Regions from separate parts of the Homo sapiens genome. Here regions 1 and 3 are each linked to region 2. The links are contacts of gene promoters, found by promoter capture Hi-C in blood cells and fetal thymus (Javierre and others, 2016). All regions are on one chromosome and are shown on one strand. Each heading gives the region's core, a stretch centred on a gene start or on the middle of the fragment in contact. The rest is flanking DNA. Distances are from core to core; before and after follow the strand shown.

Evidence for each region. Contacts are between HindIII fragments. The CHiCAGO score rates a contact against its expected background, and 5 or more counts as called.
Region 1: a fragment that was not itself captured here is called in contact with the fragment with the promoter of GAR1 in region 2 in 1 of 17 cell types (fetal thymus); the score reaches 5.0 in fetal thymus.
Region 3: a contact is called between a fragment that was not itself captured here and the fragment with the promoter of GAR1 in region 2, in 1 of 17 cell types (monocytes). The highest score is 6.8, in monocytes.

Annotation. Positions count from the first base shown.
Region 1 is chr4:108,852,493-108,855,226 of GRCh38, reverse strand. It overlaps COL25A1 (collagen type XXV alpha 1 chain), which reads left to right. Exons shown (of 38, transcript NM_198721.4): 25 at 2,302-2,325. Among named protein-coding and RNA genes, the nearest start is that of ETNPPL, 91 kb to the right of the region's middle. The HindIII fragment of the contact is 4,532 bases long and covers 1-2,734 here.
Region 2 is chr4:109,814,361-109,817,233 of GRCh38, reverse strand. It overlaps GAR1 (GAR1 ribonucleoprotein), which reads right to left and starts at 1,472. Exons shown (of 7, transcript NM_018983.4): 1 at 1,430-1,472; 2 at 856-1,081. The coding sequence starts at 1,069. GAR1-DT (GAR1 divergent transcript) reads left to right here and starts at 1,852. Exons shown (of 2, transcript NR_186620.1): 1 at 1,852-2,403. RefSeq lists enhancers at 727-796, 967-1,016, 1,367-1,416, 1,427-1,826, 1,997-2,096. The HindIII fragment of the contact is 3,017 bases long and covers 1-2,387 here.
Region 3 is chr4:110,495,464-110,498,501 of GRCh38, reverse strand. The region is part of intron 3 of ENPEP (glutamyl aminopeptidase); the gene reads right to left. Among named protein-coding and RNA genes, the nearest start is that of ENPEP, 21 kb to the right of the region's middle. The HindIII fragment of the contact is 8,500 bases long and covers 1-3,038 here.

The DNA.
Region 1 (2,734 bases), core at 84-2,583, 960 kb after region 2:
CCTTTTACAACAATTTAAAAAATAAAAAAAAAAAACAGTAACAACAGCTCAAATCAGAAATTGGAGTGGAACAGTGGAAAACAGAAGGATGGTGTTCAACTGATACCTACAAGTTTGAATGTAATTGAATAATGTTTCTCTATGACCAGAGTCCCTAAAGGAAATGTTCTCCCCTCTGTGATTTCATAAAGTGGTTATCAACCCCATAGAACTTTCAGCACAGAACCTAGACCAGAAAAATGTTAATTCAAAAATATGATTCATGGATCAGGAATTATGTTTTAGAGATTCAGACTTAGACACGGTATATTTTGTTACAGTTCTCTAACACTTTAAGAAATTAGATTAATTCTTTCAGTATATACCCAGTAATAGGATTGCTGGGTCAAATGGTATTGCTAGTTCTAGATCCTTGAGGAATTGCCACACTGTCTTCCACAATGGTTGAACTAGTTTACACTCCCACAAACAGTGTAAAAGTGTTCCTATTTCTCCACATCCTTTTCAGCATCTGTTGTTTCCTGACTTTTTAATGATCGCCATTCTAACTGGCATGAGATGGTATCTCATTGTGGTTTTGATTTGCATTTCTCTAAAGACCAGTGATGATGAGCTTTTTTTCATATGTTTGTTGGCTGCATAAATGTGTTCTTTTGAAAAATGTCTGTTCATATCCTTTGCCCACTTTTCAATGGGATTGGTTTTTTTTCTTGTAAATTTAAGTTCTTTGTAGATTCTGGATATTAGCCCTTTGTCAGATGGATAGATTGCAAAAATTTTCTCCCTTTCTGTAGGTTGCCTGTTCACTCTGATGGTAGTTTTTTTGCTATTCAGAAGCTCTTGAGTTTAATTAGATTCTGTTTGTCAATTTTGGCTCTTGTTGCCACTGCTTTTGGTGTTTTAGTCATGAAGTCTTTGCCTATACCTATGACCTGAATGGTATTGCCTAGGTTTTCTTCTAGGGTTTTTATGGTTTTAGGTTTTACATTTAAATCTTTAATCCGTTTTGAGTTAATTTTTGTATAAGGTTTAAGGAAGGGGTCCAGTTTCAGTTTTCTGCATATGGCTAGCCAGTTTTCCCAACACCATTTATTAAATAGGAAATCCTTTCCACGTTGCTTGTTTTTGTCAGGTTTGTCAAAGATCAGATGGTTGTAGGTGTGTGGTGTTATTTCTGAGGCCTCTGTTCTGTTCCATTGGTCTATATATTTGTTTTGGTACCAGTCTACTATAAAGATACATGCACATGTGTGTTTATTGCAGCACTATTCACAATAGCAAAGACTTGGAACCAACCCAAATGCCCATCAATGATAGACTGGATAAAGAAAATGTGGTACATATACACCACGGAATACTATGCAGCCATAAAAAAGAATGAGTTCATGTCATTTGTAGGGACATGGATGAAGCTGGAAACCATCATTCTCAGCAAACTAACCCAGGAACAGAAAACCAAACACCACATATTCTCACTCATAAGTGGGAGTTGAACAATGAGAACATATGGGCACAGGGAGGGGAACATCACACACCAGGGCCTGTCAGGGGGTGGGGGGCAAGGGGAGGGATAGCATTTGGAGAAATACCTAATGTAGATGACGAGTTGATGGGTGCAGCAAACCACGATGGCACATGTATACCTATGTAACAAATGTGCACATTCTGCACATGTATCCCAGAACTTAAGTATAATAAATCAATCAATCAATAAATTTTAAAAACTCATTTGTTTTTCTGATTAAGTTCACAAAAAAATTGGAATGCCAAAAAAAAGGAAATTAGATTAATTCTATGTCGACTAATATCTTTAGTTATGGCACACACACACGCACACACACACACGCACAAACACAAAGTTAGTTTTAATGCAACAAATGAGCTGCAGACTAAAAGAGAAAAAATATGCAATTGGGTATTTCAGTTTTCTCTAATGAAGTACTCTCTAGAATAGTGCTTTTATCAATAGCAAAATTTCTCAGTTCACAATTATACTGACAAGCCTCTAGCATATATGACTTTACTGCATTATTTTTTTCAATCAGGTGAATTAAAATTTTGACATTTCTTTTTCTTCAGCCATAGATTTTTTAAATAGGATTCTAAAAATAATTTTTAAAAAATCTCTACAACTATACTGTATTGAAGATAGGGTAATATGTTCTCAGTATCTTGTCAAATCCTTTTAAGATATCAGACTAGCCAAACATATTCAAAAAGTTGATTATTTCACAAATGTATTACTGTACTTTGGCACACAAAATAGATAACTCTGTCTTTGTCAACACATTTTCCCAACAGAGGATTACCACCTTAACTGTCACGGTAACTCCTATTGCATGCTTTCTGTGGTTTGTGGTTTTGTATTTGGTGTTGATGCATGCCAGCCAAAATGGTACTAATGTAGCTATTGTTTTTATCTGATACTTAATTTTATGTTTTCTTGTATTAATAATCTTTTACATTTGCTCCAGTTGAATCACTTTGTCTGCTTAGTGAAAAGGTCAAGAAAAAAGTGATTGCTAATTTTCTTAAAAGTCTCTGGCCTTATCTGAACAATATAGCTTTATTCTTTAGGGTTTGGGAAATCAACGCCTTTGGGGTGGAGGGGTAAGGAGTGTATGTAGAAACAAAGCTAATATTCGTATGCTAATTCATCCCAATACGATGAGTGTGGAGCATGGCAGCAATTTTACATTGCCTTACCGAATCTACCCAGAAGCACCTTCCACAT
Region 2 (2,873 bases), core at 223-2,722:
TCTCTCCTATCTAACCCTTCCTTTTTTTTCCTCACTGTCACCATCCTGATTCAGGCTCTCAAGGTCTCATGTATGGACTGGTACAACAGCTTGTGGGCTGGGACCTTTTATTCTAGAAACTGCTCCTTTCAAACCATCCTGCATACTCATCCAAGCCATTCTTAGTTAGACACTACTCACCCTCTCTCCTCTTTAATGTAGTAAGTTTCACTTTCTGTGACTTCCATTCCCATCTCATTGTTAATTACTCTAAAACTACCCTAAATAGGTGTTTTTCTAGATTTCCTCTCTGGCAGTTTCCCTCTCAAGCAAATTGTTTTCTCACTTATCTACTTTTGAGTAGTAACAGAAAGCATGGGCTTTGGAGTCAGAATACTTGGCTTTGTATTTCTTTCTTTTCTGTACAGACAGGGTCTCCTGCTTTATTATCCAGGCTGGTCTCTAACTCCCGGCTTCAAAAGATCCTCCCGTCTTAGCTTCCCAAAGTGTTGGGATTACAGGCGTGAGCCACCGCACCCAGCCTGTATTTCAGCTATATCACTAATTGATCACTTATCACTAACCTTATGACCCCAGCAAAAAAACTTAACTCTAAATCATAGTTTTCTCATCTGTAAAATCGGGGAATTAGGCATAAGTACTCACGATTACCTATTTAATATCTTCCTGTCAACCCTCAAGTTCCACCTCCAAGATGCATTCTAAGTATCCCTCAGCTTTCTTGATCTCCCCACTCCACCCTTACATGCTACATTCTCCACACAGGCTTGTGTATCCCAAACTTGCTGCCTAACAACACAAACCCCCAACCCACACCTACTCCTTCAAATAAGCTAAATACTGAAGACTGCATACAGACTACACGTTCTGGAGGTCCTTGGTCTTGGCCTTTGTTAAAGCCTCCGCGGCCACCCCCTCGTCCAAATCCTCCCCTGCCGCCGCCTCTGAAATTGCCGCCGCCTCCACCGCCGCCTCCACCTCGGAAGTGGTTGCTGCTGCCACCTCGGTTGAAGCCGCCACCTCCACCACCTCGATTAAAGCCTCCACGACCTCCGCCTCGAAAAGACATTCTCTCTCCTCCCTGATGAAAAAAAAACGACCTATGTCTTCTGATCACTGTAGCCTCTGAGTATACTCCAACCCCTCGGAGCTGCGGTGAGAACACCATAAAGGAGACAAAAGCAGCCCTGTCACCTCACCCACGGTCAGACAGCCAGTGACCACCAACCTGATGGGTGAAGAGTTTACTTCTCCATGGTCTCGTGAGCGCCGACCGACCACACACCACCCTTGCCGCCCCATGATTAGTATCTCCTCCCCCTACAGACAGCAAGGTCTTCGCACCGCATCCCCTTCCTTCCTCCCTCCCTCCGGCAGTTGGGTTCCACGTCCAGCATTTTCAAATCCTCCGGCTTCTACGGCCACTCACCGGCGCCACGTGCCCCTCTGGCCCTGGCCTTGCGCACACACCCACCCGCGGGGTACTTCCGCCGCGCTGGAACCTCCTCGGTTACCGTACCGCCACAGAGTTTTTTAAAGACCAGAAACTTGAATAACTGGTTTGCCAAAAAAAAAAGCCAATCACCCGCGGAACAAGCAACACTGGTTCCAAAACAGCCTTTAGCGCTGGAAAAGTGGCAATAATAGATAACCTTAACCACTAATTTACAACAGAGAGGCCAACTTGCCTGACGCTGAGCCGTGGAAGTGACGTATAACAGCGGCGTCCTTTGCAGCACGACGTCCCGGAAGTGCTGCGGCAATGTTGCTCTTGGAGATAGCTGGCGTTAGGGATCCGCCTTCTCTCCCAGAGGCGGGGCAGGTTTCTGTTTGGTTGCCGCCCTAACGGCCAGAACTAAAGCACCTTGCAAGGAATGAAGTTGGTTCTTGAAGTCCGTGCTGACTGGCTGGGCGCATTTGCGCATTTGCTTCTCTGGCTGCAAAATGGCCCGCAACAGCACTCACTAATTTGTTGCTAACTTCAGGAACTGTGCGGACAGGTCTCTGAGGCTTCTGAGCCGCGCTATGTCCAGTAGATCTGGGCGCCTCAGAACCTGTCACAGCCGACGGAAGCGTTTATCTGAGTTTCTTGTTTCTTCCCAACCTTTTGATTTTCGCACCATTACGCGCTCAACTATGCCTCTTCTTTTGTCCTATGGTCTCAACTAATTAAAGGAAGAAAAGCAATGCATGTGTGTGTGTAATTTTAAAGAAACTATGCTGTCTTATAGAAAACCAAACCATCATTTTTATCTTTTGTACCAGGTATTCAAGTATGTTTTGAGCACCGACGGGCTGTGAACTGGACTGTGCTGAAAGCTCCTCTCCCTCTTCTCTCTTTAAGCCCTTTATATTTGACATCAGCTTCCCCCACATTCTCCAAAGCTTCTCTCACAAATAAAGGTAATGACTTCCCATTTATTAAATTTGGTTGGAGTCTTTTACACCCAAACCCTCTGAGACCTTACCTTGATATTTGATCTCGTGTTTAGAAGAGGGTGGAACTTGGTACCTATCTAATTCAGAGGGTTATTGTAAATGGGATTTTAAAATACCTTTGTAGGCGGGGCGTGGTGGCTCACGCCTGTAATCCCAGCACTTTGGGAGGCCAAGGCAGATGGATCACTTGAGATCAGGAGTTCGAGACCAGCCTGGCCAATACGGTGAAACCCCTTCTCTACTAAAAATACAAAAATCAGCCGGGCATGGTGGCACACGCCTGTAATCGCAGCTACTCGGGAGGCTGAGGCAGGAGAATCGCTTGAACCCGGGAGGCGGAGGTTGCCGTGAGCCGAGATCACGCCACTGCACTCCAGCCTGGACGACAGAGCAAGGCTTGGTCTCAAAACAAACAAAAAACAAAATAAGTGAGA
Region 3 (3,038 bases), core at 213-2,712, 680 kb before region 2:
TTAATTAATAACACCTCCTCTATTATTTATTATATATATATTTATAGATGATAAATTATATGGTCACTCTACTTATTGACAGCAGCCTGACTTTTCACTGCTGATCATCCCGCAGAAGTAGCACCATTTACCTCTTGAGGTTTTTTTTGCAAGGTCTCATCTGAGCTGTTCCAAAGAGCCACATCATTTTAAATGACGAGCATGCTTAAAGGATCCCCCAAAAACAAGCTGAGATCCTTGGCACTCAGGGCTAGTAACACCAAGAAAGACCTGAAAACACACTTGGGTGGCACAGGGCAGTGGTGACTGTATCTGGTGCACATCTTAATTGAAGTACAGATATCAGCATATTTCACTCTCTTCAGGGTTTAGCATCCTCCAGTGCACATAGTAGATGCTCAATAAAAATGTACACAATAATCAGTTTGAAGAAACTGTTTCATTATCAATACTGAGGTAGCCAGGATGAGAAAGAGAAAATAAATCTATATTGTTTTTAAATATATAAATGCATATTTAAGGTACATAGCTGGTATTACTGAACATGCCATTAATGTGTTAAATTTTATAAAGTTTATGTTCTTTTAAATATTCTTCCAGTAGTAGGTGGAAAGTTAGCAGAGGAGGGTACTTAGTTGAAAGGAATAGTGATACATCAGTTTTTTTCTTTTTAAGTTCTGCCTTATCAATGTGATATATTCTTTCTAAATTTTAGTTTGCTCCTTCCTCATAGATAAATTAGTATGAATATGCAAAACCTTGGTTTGAAGTTTAGGTGAAAAAACACCTTTTTTTCCGCTGTAGCTATGCTGGTTCAAAACATGTTCGGACTCTGAGTCGGAACTCACCTGCTATGAATTGCTGTTTAAGAAGAAACTCAGCACGGCCATTAGGTTACACAAAGCATTTATTGGCCACTTACTTTCCATTTAAGTTAAAATTTAAGTTGTCTGATGCTTAGTGATTATTACTGCAGTATAATTTTTAAGAAATTAAAAAATGAACATTAAAAAATCTAAATTACCCCATAAAATCTTACATTATTTTTATTATTTTGTTTATATTTTTGTAAATTTAAATAAAAAATAAGAATCATTAGCAATCCTCCGTGGCTTACTAAATTAAACAGTTTCCTTCAAGGGAGATTAATAACCTTCCATTTAAAGATAACCCTTCCAGTAAAGAAATTAATTAAAAAAAACTAATTAAAATGTTCTAGAAATCAAATTCATTCTGAAAACTTAGCAAAGCCACAGCCAAAATAAGTTTTTAAAATAATGAAATGACCATATGTCAAAAATAATTCTGAGGAAAACAGAAAAATCACCTTTAGAACACCACAATAACAGTTGTTGTGGACATCCACTGGGGAATGCTACAATAAGTGGTCAAAACCTGAAGAACTAACAGGATATTCACATAGCCTTTAATTATCACTCCCTAAATATTTATTAATCACTGTGGTGGTCATAATGTATATCCATAAATTCTTTGTGACTCCTCCCTCCAGGAAGTAGAGCTTAACTCTCTTCCCCTTGGGTGTGGACTGCATTTAGCGATTGCTTCTAAAAAACAGAAGATTGGAATAAAAAACTAGTAAACTGAAGCAGAGAAACCTAGCAGACACCATCTCAACCAAGTGATCAAAGTTAGCATCACCAGGAATAAGTCATGAGGATGTCATGTACCCCCTGATAGGATGTGATGAAAAGGACCCTTCACCTCTGTGGTATTCTCCAAAATCCAAAGCCTCAGTCTAATCTTGAGGAAACATCACACAAACCCAAACTGAGAAACTTTCTACGAAATACCTGAACAGTACTCTTAAAAAGTGTCAGGATCATAAAAAAGAAAAAAACTGAGAAATGTCATATATCAGAATGAATTAAGGAGACAGCATTGCTAAGTATAATGTAGATGTATCATCTATTGGATTTTGGAATAGAAAAGGCACATTAGTGAAAAAACTGGTGAAATCCAAGTAAAGACTGTTGTTTAGTTAATAGTATTGTATTACATTGATTTCTTAGATTTGACGAATGTTTGATAAATGGTTATATAAGATATTAACATTAAGGGAAGGTTACATGGAGACTCTTGTGTCTTTGCAACTCTCTGTAAATCTAAAATTATTTCAAAATAAGAAGTTTAAAAATATATCTCTGAGCATTAAAGCAATGAAACTTAAAAAATAAGATTATTTCTATGAAGAGAAATACATAAATCAAAGTCTATGGCACAAAACCTAAAACTGTTATAAAGATAGGCTGTTTTTAAAAATCCATGGCATATATACATACATACTCTGCCTTCAGCCTATCTTTCTAATCCAGGCAAACAACGGACTAAGATGGAAGCAAGTAAGAAGACACAGACAGTAGGAAGAACCCATTCACAGAGAGAATCCTAGATGCAATTATTCAGCGATCATCCTGTAAGATTTTTGGAAGAAAGTACAACATAATCCCTTCTACTGATATATTAGAATTAATATGGTCATAGTACAAACCTAATTAAATGGATAATATCTTCCACCAGCATTCCCTTAGTGAATAATTCCTCCCAGCTTCCCCCTCTGTTCAGGAAAGCCAAGGAAAACTTGACTAGAGTTGAAATAATCTCCAACAAGGTAATTTCTTGTTTTTGCACATACTTCTTTATAAAATACAGATGCCAAATGCCCCCAAAGAAATTCAAGGGCTCCTGAGATTTTTGTTTCTCAGGAACGAAATCACTCGTGCCATTTATTATTTATTTACTTATTTATTTATGTATACTTTTGAGACCGAGTCTTGCTCTGTCACCCAGGCTGGAGTGCAGTGGCACCATCTCGGCTCACCGCAACCTCTGCCTCCTGGGTTCAAGCGATTCTCCTGCCTGAGCCTCCCGAGTAGCTGGGATTACAGGCACACACCATCACGCCCGGCTGATTTTTGTATTTTTAGTAGAGACAGGGTTTCACCATTTTGGCCAGGCTGTTCTCAAACTCCTGACCTCAAGTAATCTGCACACCTCAGCCTCCCAAAGTGCTGGGATTA